3 separate regions of the Homo sapiens genome follow, and all the other regions are linked to region 2. Evidence: promoter capture Hi-C in human tissues and cell types (Jung and others, 2019). All regions are on one chromosome and are shown on one strand. The core of a region is centred on a gene start or on the middle of the fragment in contact, and the rest is flanking DNA. Distances in the headings are between cores, read along the strand shown.

The links. The method cuts DNA at HindIII sites, captures the fragments that hold promoters and counts their contacts. A contact is called where the count stands out against the background at its distance.
Region 1: a fragment that was not itself captured here is called in contact with the fragment with the promoter of DZIP1 in region 2 in 1 of the 25 tissues and cell types used here (dorsolateral prefrontal cortex).
Region 3: a fragment that was not itself captured here is called in contact with the fragment with the promoter of DZIP1 in region 2 in 1 of the 25 tissues and cell types used here (lymphoblastoid cells).

Annotation. Positions count from the first base shown.
Region 1 is chr13:96,038,832-96,041,617 of GRCh38, reverse strand. All of the region lies in intron 1 of UGGT2 (UDP-glucose glycoprotein glucosyltransferase 2), which reads left to right. Among named protein-coding and RNA genes, the nearest start is that of UGGT2, 13 kb to the left of the region's middle. RefSeq lists an enhancer at 1-80. The HindIII fragment of the contact is 6,154 bases long and covers 1-2,786 here.
Region 2 is chr13:95,643,456-95,646,575 of GRCh38, reverse strand. DZIP1 (DAZ interacting zinc finger protein 1) reads left to right here and starts at 1,870. Exons shown (of 23, transcript NM_198968.4): 1 at 1,870-2,199; 2 at 2,878-2,975. RefSeq lists an enhancer at 1,658-1,707 and silencers at 1,798-1,907, 1,998-2,087, 2,148-2,257. The HindIII fragment of the contact is 16,516 bases long and covers 1-3,120 here.
Region 3 is chr13:95,985,924-95,988,841 of GRCh38, reverse strand. UGGT2 (UDP-glucose glycoprotein glucosyltransferase 2) reads left to right here. Exons shown (of 39, transcript NM_020121.4): 9 at 2,410-2,509. Among named protein-coding and RNA genes, the nearest start is that of UGGT2, 66 kb to the left of the region's middle. The HindIII fragment of the contact is 4,549 bases long and covers 1-2,918 here.

The DNA of each region.
Region 1 (2,786 bases), core at 240-2,739, 400 kb before region 2:
GCGAGCAGGGCTGAGAACTTGCCCCAGGCTACCAGCCTCCCAGCTGCAAATGCAAATAGGGCTCTCATGCTTCCCCACCTGTGGAGTTTGCACACCAGATTCATGCCCTCTCCCAAGTTCTGGCCAGGAGATTTCTTGTTCCTTTGAAATTGTTACAAGGTTCAGCTGGAGGTTTCCTTCTCCCTGTGGCCTCTTCCCAGTACCTCTGGCAGCCCTACCCGAGGACCCCTGTGAGGCAAGGCAGAAATAGCTTCCTAGGGGACCCAGAGAGCCCACAGGGCTTTTCCTGCTGCTTCCTCTACCCTTGTATTTTGCTTGGCTCTCTAAATTGACTCAGCCCCAGGTAAGGTCAGAATCTTCTCCAGTGATATACACCTTCGGGTTCCCCAGTGAGAGTGTGTTTTCAGGGGCAGACAATCCCCCTTTCCCACTCTCACAGTTTGGGTACTCAGAGTATTTGGGGTATCTCCCAGGTCCTACAGGAGCAATTCATTTCCTTCAGAGGGTCTGTGGGTTCTCTTGGCTTTTCTAATTTATTCCTGCAGCAGTTCTGGAGCAAAGGTTCAGAATTCAAGACTCCACATGCTGCTCTGTCCATTTGAGTGGGAGGCTAAAACGGTTTTTATTTAATACCTGATTCTAGCTTAATTTTGATCCCCTTCCTTTATCCTTTCCCCAGTATTTAACTGTTTGCCTAGATCTGATCTCACACTTAGCTCCAAATCAGTCTAACTTTTTCCAGCCTTAGACTGCTTGTTACAGTATCTGGCTTTACATTTGCCTTGAGAGTCTTAGAGTTGGAACTGCTGTGTTATGCTCCTTAAGGTCCTTGACAGTCTAGCCGCAGTCTGATTTACAAACCCCATCACTTGTACAAATTGTCCCCAACTTATCATGGTTCAATTTAGGATTTTTTGACTTTACTATGGGTTTGCCAGGGTATTAAATGCATTTTTTACTTATAGTATTTGCAACTTAATACTTAATAAACCCAACTTAATGGGTTTATTGGGAGGTAACCCTAAGTCAAGGGGCATCTGTAGTAGGTTGAATGCTGGCCTCAAAAAGATATGTCCACATCCTAACTCCCAGAACCTGTGAATGTTACCTTATTTGGAAAAATGTCTGTGTTAATGTAAGTAAGGATCTTGAGATGAGATCATCTTGGATTATCTAGATGGGCCCCAAATCCAATGTCATTTTAAGAGACAGAAGCAGAGAAGACACAGGCAAAAAGGAGAAGGCCATGTGAAGTTAGAGATTGGAGTTAGGCAGCCTCAAGCCAAGGAACAGCTGAAGCCACCAGGATGGAACAGTCTCCCTTAGAGCCTTCAGAGGGAGCACAGCCCTGCCAACACCTTGATTTTGGACTTCTGGCCTCCAGAATTGTGAGAGAATAAGTTTCTGTTTTAAGTCACCAAATTTTTCATAATTTGTTAAACAGATCTAGGAAACTAATACAGATTTTGGACCAAAAAGTTGGGTGCTGCTGTAACAAATAGTTCAAAATGTAGAAGTAGCTGTGGAGTTGGACAGAGGCTAGAATAATTTTGAGAAGTTTGGTATTAAAAGCCTAGACTGCCTTGAGGAGACTTCAGAAATCTGGACATTAAGGGTGATTCTGCTGAGGGCTTAGAAGAGATTAAAGGGCATAGTTGAAAAAACTTCTGTCATCATAGAGAATACTTATATCATCCTGAAGAGAATTTCAGTAGAAATATGAACATTGAAGTCTGTTCTGGCCATGGCTTGGAAGGAAATGAGAGACATTATATTGGAATCTAGAAGAAAGGTAACCCTTGTTATGTAGTGATACAATACCGGCTGACTTGGTTTCTACAGTTTGTGGAAAACATCTTGAAACTGGTGAACTTGGATATGAGCTGAAAAGATTTCCAAGCAAAGTGTTAAAAGTGCTGCTTGGTTTCTCCTCGCTGCCTATATTAAAATGAGAGAAGAAAGAGATAAATTTAAAAAGGAACAGGTAAGGAAAAAGGAACCAACACTTGATGATTTTGGAGGTTCTCAGCCTATCCAGATTGTAAAGAGTGTTACAACTAGGAAACTCAGTGTTGGGAATGTGTGCTCTGGAGAGAAAGACAGAAACCTGGCAGGACAACCTTTTGCTGAACAGGTTAAGCATGTGATTCATGGGTCCCCTCAACCATCTCCCCAGAAGCTTGGTATAAAGAAGGTGGGGATATCCAGGAAGGATCTGGGGAGGATCCGTGTAATGATGTGGCTCTTGGTGAAATATACAATAGTCTTACAAAGTTTTGGGGAATGTATTAGAAACACTGTCAGCTTGGACCGAAAGAGACAAGACAAAATGAAAGAAGGCTGTTGGACTTCCAAAATTCTATAGGCAGGAAATGGACTATAGAGCTACTTGGCTGTAAACATTGTGCTGCCCTTTCAAGAAAGAAAGAATAACTCTGCAAGCAGAACCATGGCAGGCAGCACAGAGGGTGAAGCATCAGGCCACAGAGAGTTATTCTCAGGCTTTGAAACATAATGGAAATTTGCCCTGCTGGATTTTGAACTTGCCTGTGACCAGTGACCCCTTTATTCCTTCTATTTTTTTCCTTTGGGAATTAGAGTGTCCATCCTATGCCTGTCTCTCCATTGCATTTTGGAAACATAACTTGTTTTCTAGTTTCACAGGTGGACAGGGGAGAATTTTACCCCAGGATGGATCATACCCAGAGTCTCACCCATACATGATTTAGATGATAAAATTTGTAAATGAAGTTGACGATATTTACATGAGATTTTGGACTTAGAAT
Region 2 (3,120 bases), core at 621-3,120:
TTAGCCAGGTAATATCAATAACTATTTTCAAATGAGAGAAACAGAAACAATCATTTGAAATAAATTCAGCTACAATGCTTTTGTTTATTTACTGTACAAAATGATTAATGTTCACCAGTATTATTATTTCATTCTTTAGGATCATTTCTGTCTTCAAAAAGCAAATATTTATTTGAGGACTTACTAAATGCTCAAAATGCTGGAATACTTGAGGTTCTTATAGTCTGACCGACGAGAGAGATACCTTAATCATTAAAAATATGTATACCATTATACAATTGGTAAAAGTGGTTTGTGCATAGATCAAGAATGCATCATGGCTGCTAAGTCATGCCAAAGTCAATTGATTCTTCTTATTCCAATTCTACACCTGTAGGGTAATATACTGACAGTGGGGATGGGAAATACATGTAACTCAAATGGTATGTCAACAAATAATATTAATTAAGCAATCATCTCTCTCTCTCTCTCACACACACACACAGACAGCTACCGAGTTTGCAAAAACCGGATTTTGCAGAGCAATGGTCCTATCTATCTCATATTGTCTGAAATTCCTTTCTTTTTTTTTCTTTCTTTCTTTTTCTTTTCTTTTCTTTTTTCTTTTTTTTTTTTTTGAAACGGAGCCTCGCTCTCTCGCCCAGGCTGGAGTGCAGTGGCGCGATCTCGGCTCACTGCAAGCTCCGCCTCCCAGGTTCACGCCATTCTCCTGCCTCAGCCTCCCGAGTAGCTGGGACTACAGGTGCCCACCACCATGCCCGGCTAATTTTTTGTATTTTTAATAGAGACGGCGTTTCACCGTGTTAGCCATGATGGTCTCGATTTCCTGACCTCGTGATACACCCGCCTCGGACTCCCAAAGTGCTGGGATTACAGGCGTCAGCCACTGCGCTCGGCCTATTGTCTGAAATTTCTATCTAGAAATCTTTCCCCATAGTACTTAGAGGATTTTTATAGAGATCTTGAATTTTCTTTCAAAATAATTTTAAAATTAGACCAATTTAAAATCCCATCATGGTCATCTTGGCCTTATGGCTTCAAATAAAACTAAAGCAAGGAATTCAACATAAATACATATTTAGCTGTTGCTATGTTTGAAGCCTTGTGCTAAAGTATGGTACAAAGTTGATTCTGTCAGGGAGAAGCACAAGGAAAGGCACTTTTACAACGGCATGTTGGTCCAGTAAAAGTTCTGCAGCTACTCCTCTCTAATTTAAAAACATATATATATATATTATATATATATATATATATAGCTGCATTAGACACTTAGGTTTTGCAAAAGATGCCTTCATTTCTCATGATGGTATATACATACGTTCTGGATTACTTGTTACTTAAAAATACTGACTTTTGTCCCACGTGTTCCAATTTTAGGTTACATAAATGAGCACACTACTCCGGACCCACATCTCCTGTAATTCAGTGCCTAACTTTCTACCAACAAAGATCCGTGCCTTTCATCCTGAAGTGGGCATAACGGAAAGAGACGCAGAAACCTACGTGGGTTTAAATCCTAGAGGGCTTTGGTGAAAAGTCCCTAATCTCGGTTTTCCACGTCACTCAAATGCAGGGCCACATTAGATAGCCTTTTCAAGGTCCTTCGCATCTGCAGACTTCTGCGATTAAAACGCATCTCTTTTTGGAAGATAATTCACCTGAAGCTCCTCTGGGAAATTAGCTTGCTGAGGGCCAGACCAACAACCGGGTAGGAGCGAATCTGGTTTCTCTTTGAAAAGCCTTCCTAGGGTTAGCATCCAGGGCCAGCAACGGAGCGCGCCCCCGAACCACGTGTCTGCGCCAGCTGCCGGATTGGCTGAGCGCATTTTAGCGCTGCGGTCTAGACGCTCGCGGTCCCGCCCAGTTGCCAGAGGAGCCGGGACACCGAGGGAAGAGGCCGGAGGGAGATCGCGGAGGGGAGGGGGCGGGAGGGGGGTGGGGTATCCTGAGTCGTCCGTGGTCCGGAGTCTGGAAGGCCCTAGAGCGGCGCCAGTCGACCCGCCTCGCCACAACTTGCCCAGACCAGACACGTTTCATCCTGCGCCCTGCAAGAAGGAGCCGGCCTGCCTCTCTCCGCTTTGCTGCTCCTCGGCCTCCGCGGGCCCGGCCCGCGTCAGCAGCGACCCTGGGGTCTGGGTCCCCTGTGTCGCCCCCGCCCGCCTGCAGCGCCCGGCACCCGCCCAGGAGCGCGCAGCTGGGGTGAGCCGAGACCGGGGATGCGCCAGGCGCCCACAGGAGGTGGCTGACGGGGCATCCCGATACCCGCGAAGCCGGCCCTCCTGCCTCTCCAGGCTGCGAGCCGAGCCTCTGCAGATCCAGCTGGAGTAGCCGCCGCTGCCCCCACTGCCTGTTTGCCTTCCAAGGAAGGGCGCCGAGGTTCCCCTGGAACCCGCGTCTCTCGGCTTTTGTCTGCTGGTTCGGCTGCCCGGCGGTGCCATGCGCCTGGGACTTGAGGCGCCGCGCAAGGCTGGGGGCCCTGCCCGGGATGGGGGAGGGAGGGAACGGGAAAGCATGCCCCCTTCTTTCCTGTTCCGGCCATCTTGTGACCGAGATCCACGCAAGGGGAAAGGGGTGGTCAGCGGCACGACGCCCCACGATGGAGTGTGGCGGCCAACGGAGATGGGTACCTCGGGCCCGCAGGCCTCTGCGCCCAGATCTCAGCGGGGGCGCGCGGGCCACCCCCACGTTCAGCTCTGAAGCCCTTGGCCCAGATCATGGGTTAATCGTTCTAACAGGCCAGAGGCAGCAAAAATAGGAGGGATAAAGGGCCAGGAGCTGATGTTTCCTTAACTAAGCGCCTAAGTCATTCGATCGTTCTTCATTCACGTGTCCATTCAGCAAATTCTGAACGCCTTCTCCGTGCCTGTCCTCTGCTAGGTTCTAGGGACGTATACTTGAGCAAGAGAGACCACAGCTCTTGTTCCCGCTGATCCTGCAGCCCAGTGGATGGAGTCCAGAATCTACAGACCTGCCAGGTCGGTGTCTTGATGCTCTTAAACAGATGGAGGAAGCTAAGTCTTAGAGCTGACAATTTGTTCTAGATCAGGGAGCAAGTAAGTGACAGAATCAAACTTTGAAACTATTTATGTCTTTAGCACTTTTTATGCCTGGTTGCAGGGA
Region 3 (2,918 bases), core at 265-2,764, 340 kb before region 2:
TTTGGTCCAAGTAAAATTCTTTATACTGTACCATATGGTATCTAGGTAAACTTTATATACACTTAACAGAATATTGAATGTTACATTTTAAAATTATAGCAGAATGTGCAAGACACAATCTATTAAGTTTTATAACTTCTGCTATTCTTTACCTACCTAATACAAATGTTGTATCAACTAAGCCCTGTATCATTAGAAAATCAATATATCAATAGAAAAATCATTCAGCAGAATGAGATTCAAGGCCATTGTTATGATAGATTTACTGTAAAGAATCTACCTCTTTGAACTGATAGAATCTATTCTCCCTGGACCCTTCTGGTGTACAGTTTCCTATTTAATGTCTCATCTAGACCTCATGCTTAGACCTCCTTTTATTATACCACAGCCCTTGTGACTGTTCTTTCACTTGACATCATGATAACACTAAACTGAGGTAGTAGTTTCAAATTCATTCTCAATAAGGTTACTGAGATAATCTTTCTAAAATGAAAATCTGATTTTGGCCTTGTGTCAAATCAGCCAGGCTTTATCACTTGTACATCCCTGATCAAATAGTGGCCTTACATTAGTCCCCACAGGAAAATGTTGGCACACACAAACTAAAAAGTTTAATAAAGGGACTTTTTACAGAGACAGGCATGATTGAGGGAAACCAACAAGGAATGGATTATTCGATTCCAGTATTTGCAACTAGATGGAAACATTTTCTACCCCTAATCTTGAGGGAGCAAGAGGAGAGAGTGGTTACCAAAACCTGGAGAGTGTGTCGAGAGAGCTGCTTGACACAGCAGTAGTACCCCGAGGGACTGTCCTCTGTGTATCAAGGAAGGGATCTGGGTAGTAACTATTCCACTCCTTACTCTTTTCTTGCTTACTGATCCCATATTAGTTACTTGGATTGGCTGAATCTAACTAGAAATCTGAGGGCAAGGGAGCTTATTGATGCAGTTCAGATAGGCCAGCCTTTTGGGGGCCCGGAGCAGGAAAGAGTGGATGCGGGGGGCAAACAAAGTATGCAGTCCTCTTCTCTGAGAAAGTTCTGTTTTTCCAAGGTAAATACTTCTGGAGAGACTTCGAATGTAAGAAGGGGTTGATAGGACTAGCTAGCCAAGTCATTTGCATCATTAAGGACTGATTTCATGCACATCCATTAAAAGTATTAAGTTTAAACCCCTTAGCATGGTTTGTGAAGCTCTTGTCTAAGTTCTAATAGAGCTTATATTCCTAAATCCATAATTTCAGATAGTCTCTTTCTAGTATCTTCAATTATTTTTAGATCCTTTTTTATGTCTCTATTTTAGCACTTTTTAAAAAGTATAATTATGTTTTAAGCCTCCTTCAAAATGTTCTCTAAGGGGCCTTTGCATAATTTAGAAAAGTATAAGTGATGGGGTGTTTTTGAAGGCCTTTAAGCAAAGAGTATGCATAGTCAGCTTAGTTCTAGTTGACTCCCTAATGTCTGTGTAAGATGTATTTCAATGGACTAAAAGCAAGAAATCTAGGTAGACATTACTGAAATAGTGATAGAAGGCATATAAATATTTAGAAGGTGAAAAGGAGTCAAAGATAATTCTAGGATTTCTAGCTTGAGCCTGAGTAGAGAGAATATATAAAACATGTAAGCAGACTTTGGGGCTGAATATGGGACTCAGAAATAATGAGACTAGTGTTGAAAGGTTGATTTAAAGTCATTGTAAGATATCCAGATGGTTAGGTTCAGTGGTGGGGTGAGTATCCTGTCCTTAAGCTAAAGGAGAAACAATCTGCCTCACTGTTGAGGTAGGTAATGAAAGAATTTAGTTTTAAATCTTTTCTGACTCTTGACAAAGTAATAATACTAAGATGAATTCTTCTGACATGTTTGAAACTAACCACAGTTAGCAACACACATTTTTCTTTTTATAGGATTGTCATATCAGATAAAATAATACTAAGTTTAGGATTTTATTTCAGCACAAAGGTAAAACAATGTTGAAAGAGAAATTGAATGTTTCTATTTACTGAGTTAAACACAGTGGAGCTTTCTTAGAGGTCTTTTCAGAATTGGCTCTTTAAAGCTCTTTTTACTCCTCTTCATTATTCTTTTGACTTTTTGTCATATGTTTCATTTAAGTATAGAAAAAGCTTTGCGAGAGCATTTCTTTTCATATATCTCTCTCGAAATTATACTGTAATTTGTGGAAACAAGAGGTATTAAATAGTCATTCATAAAAGTATAAAGCTTATATTTGGAAATAAGTGATAACTTTACATTTAAAACTTTTTAAAAATGCAGATGTAACAGTATTAACATGTTTGTATACTAATACTTGGCAAGAAGAATTGAGTCAAGTATTTCAATTTCATGGAAATGTCTATAAAGGTCTAATATTATGCTAGATTCCTTAATAATATTTTTCCTTCCAGATCTTAGTTTTCAAGCAGCTTCTCAAATAATGTCCGCTCCAGTTTATGATTCCATTAAATTAATGAAAGACATTTCACAGAACTTCCCCATAAAAGCCAGGTATGTTAAAGTTTATAGGTTTCATTGCAGCTATAACTCTTTCTATTAAATGAGTTTTATGAAAATAGCTGATTTCATTTAACATGAAGGTGTCAATTAGTTCTAGTATATATAGCTTTTGTGAAATCAGGGCCTTTTCAATATATATATATTTTTTGATTAGAGCAAAATATTGGCTTGTGCATACATGTGTGTATGCACTGTAAGGTAGAACTCTTGTTAGAGGCAAATAGGAAAAAAAGTCCTAAAAAATTTTCTAAAATCATGCATAGTAATCTAAGGAAAAACTTGTTTAAGCAATAAATAATGAAGGAGTGTTTTTTCTTTCCCTTATGGAGGATGATAAAAAGTATTACTCTAAGTAGGAGGTCTATGCCCAAAGTACTGCCAAATCATATTCTTACCCTTT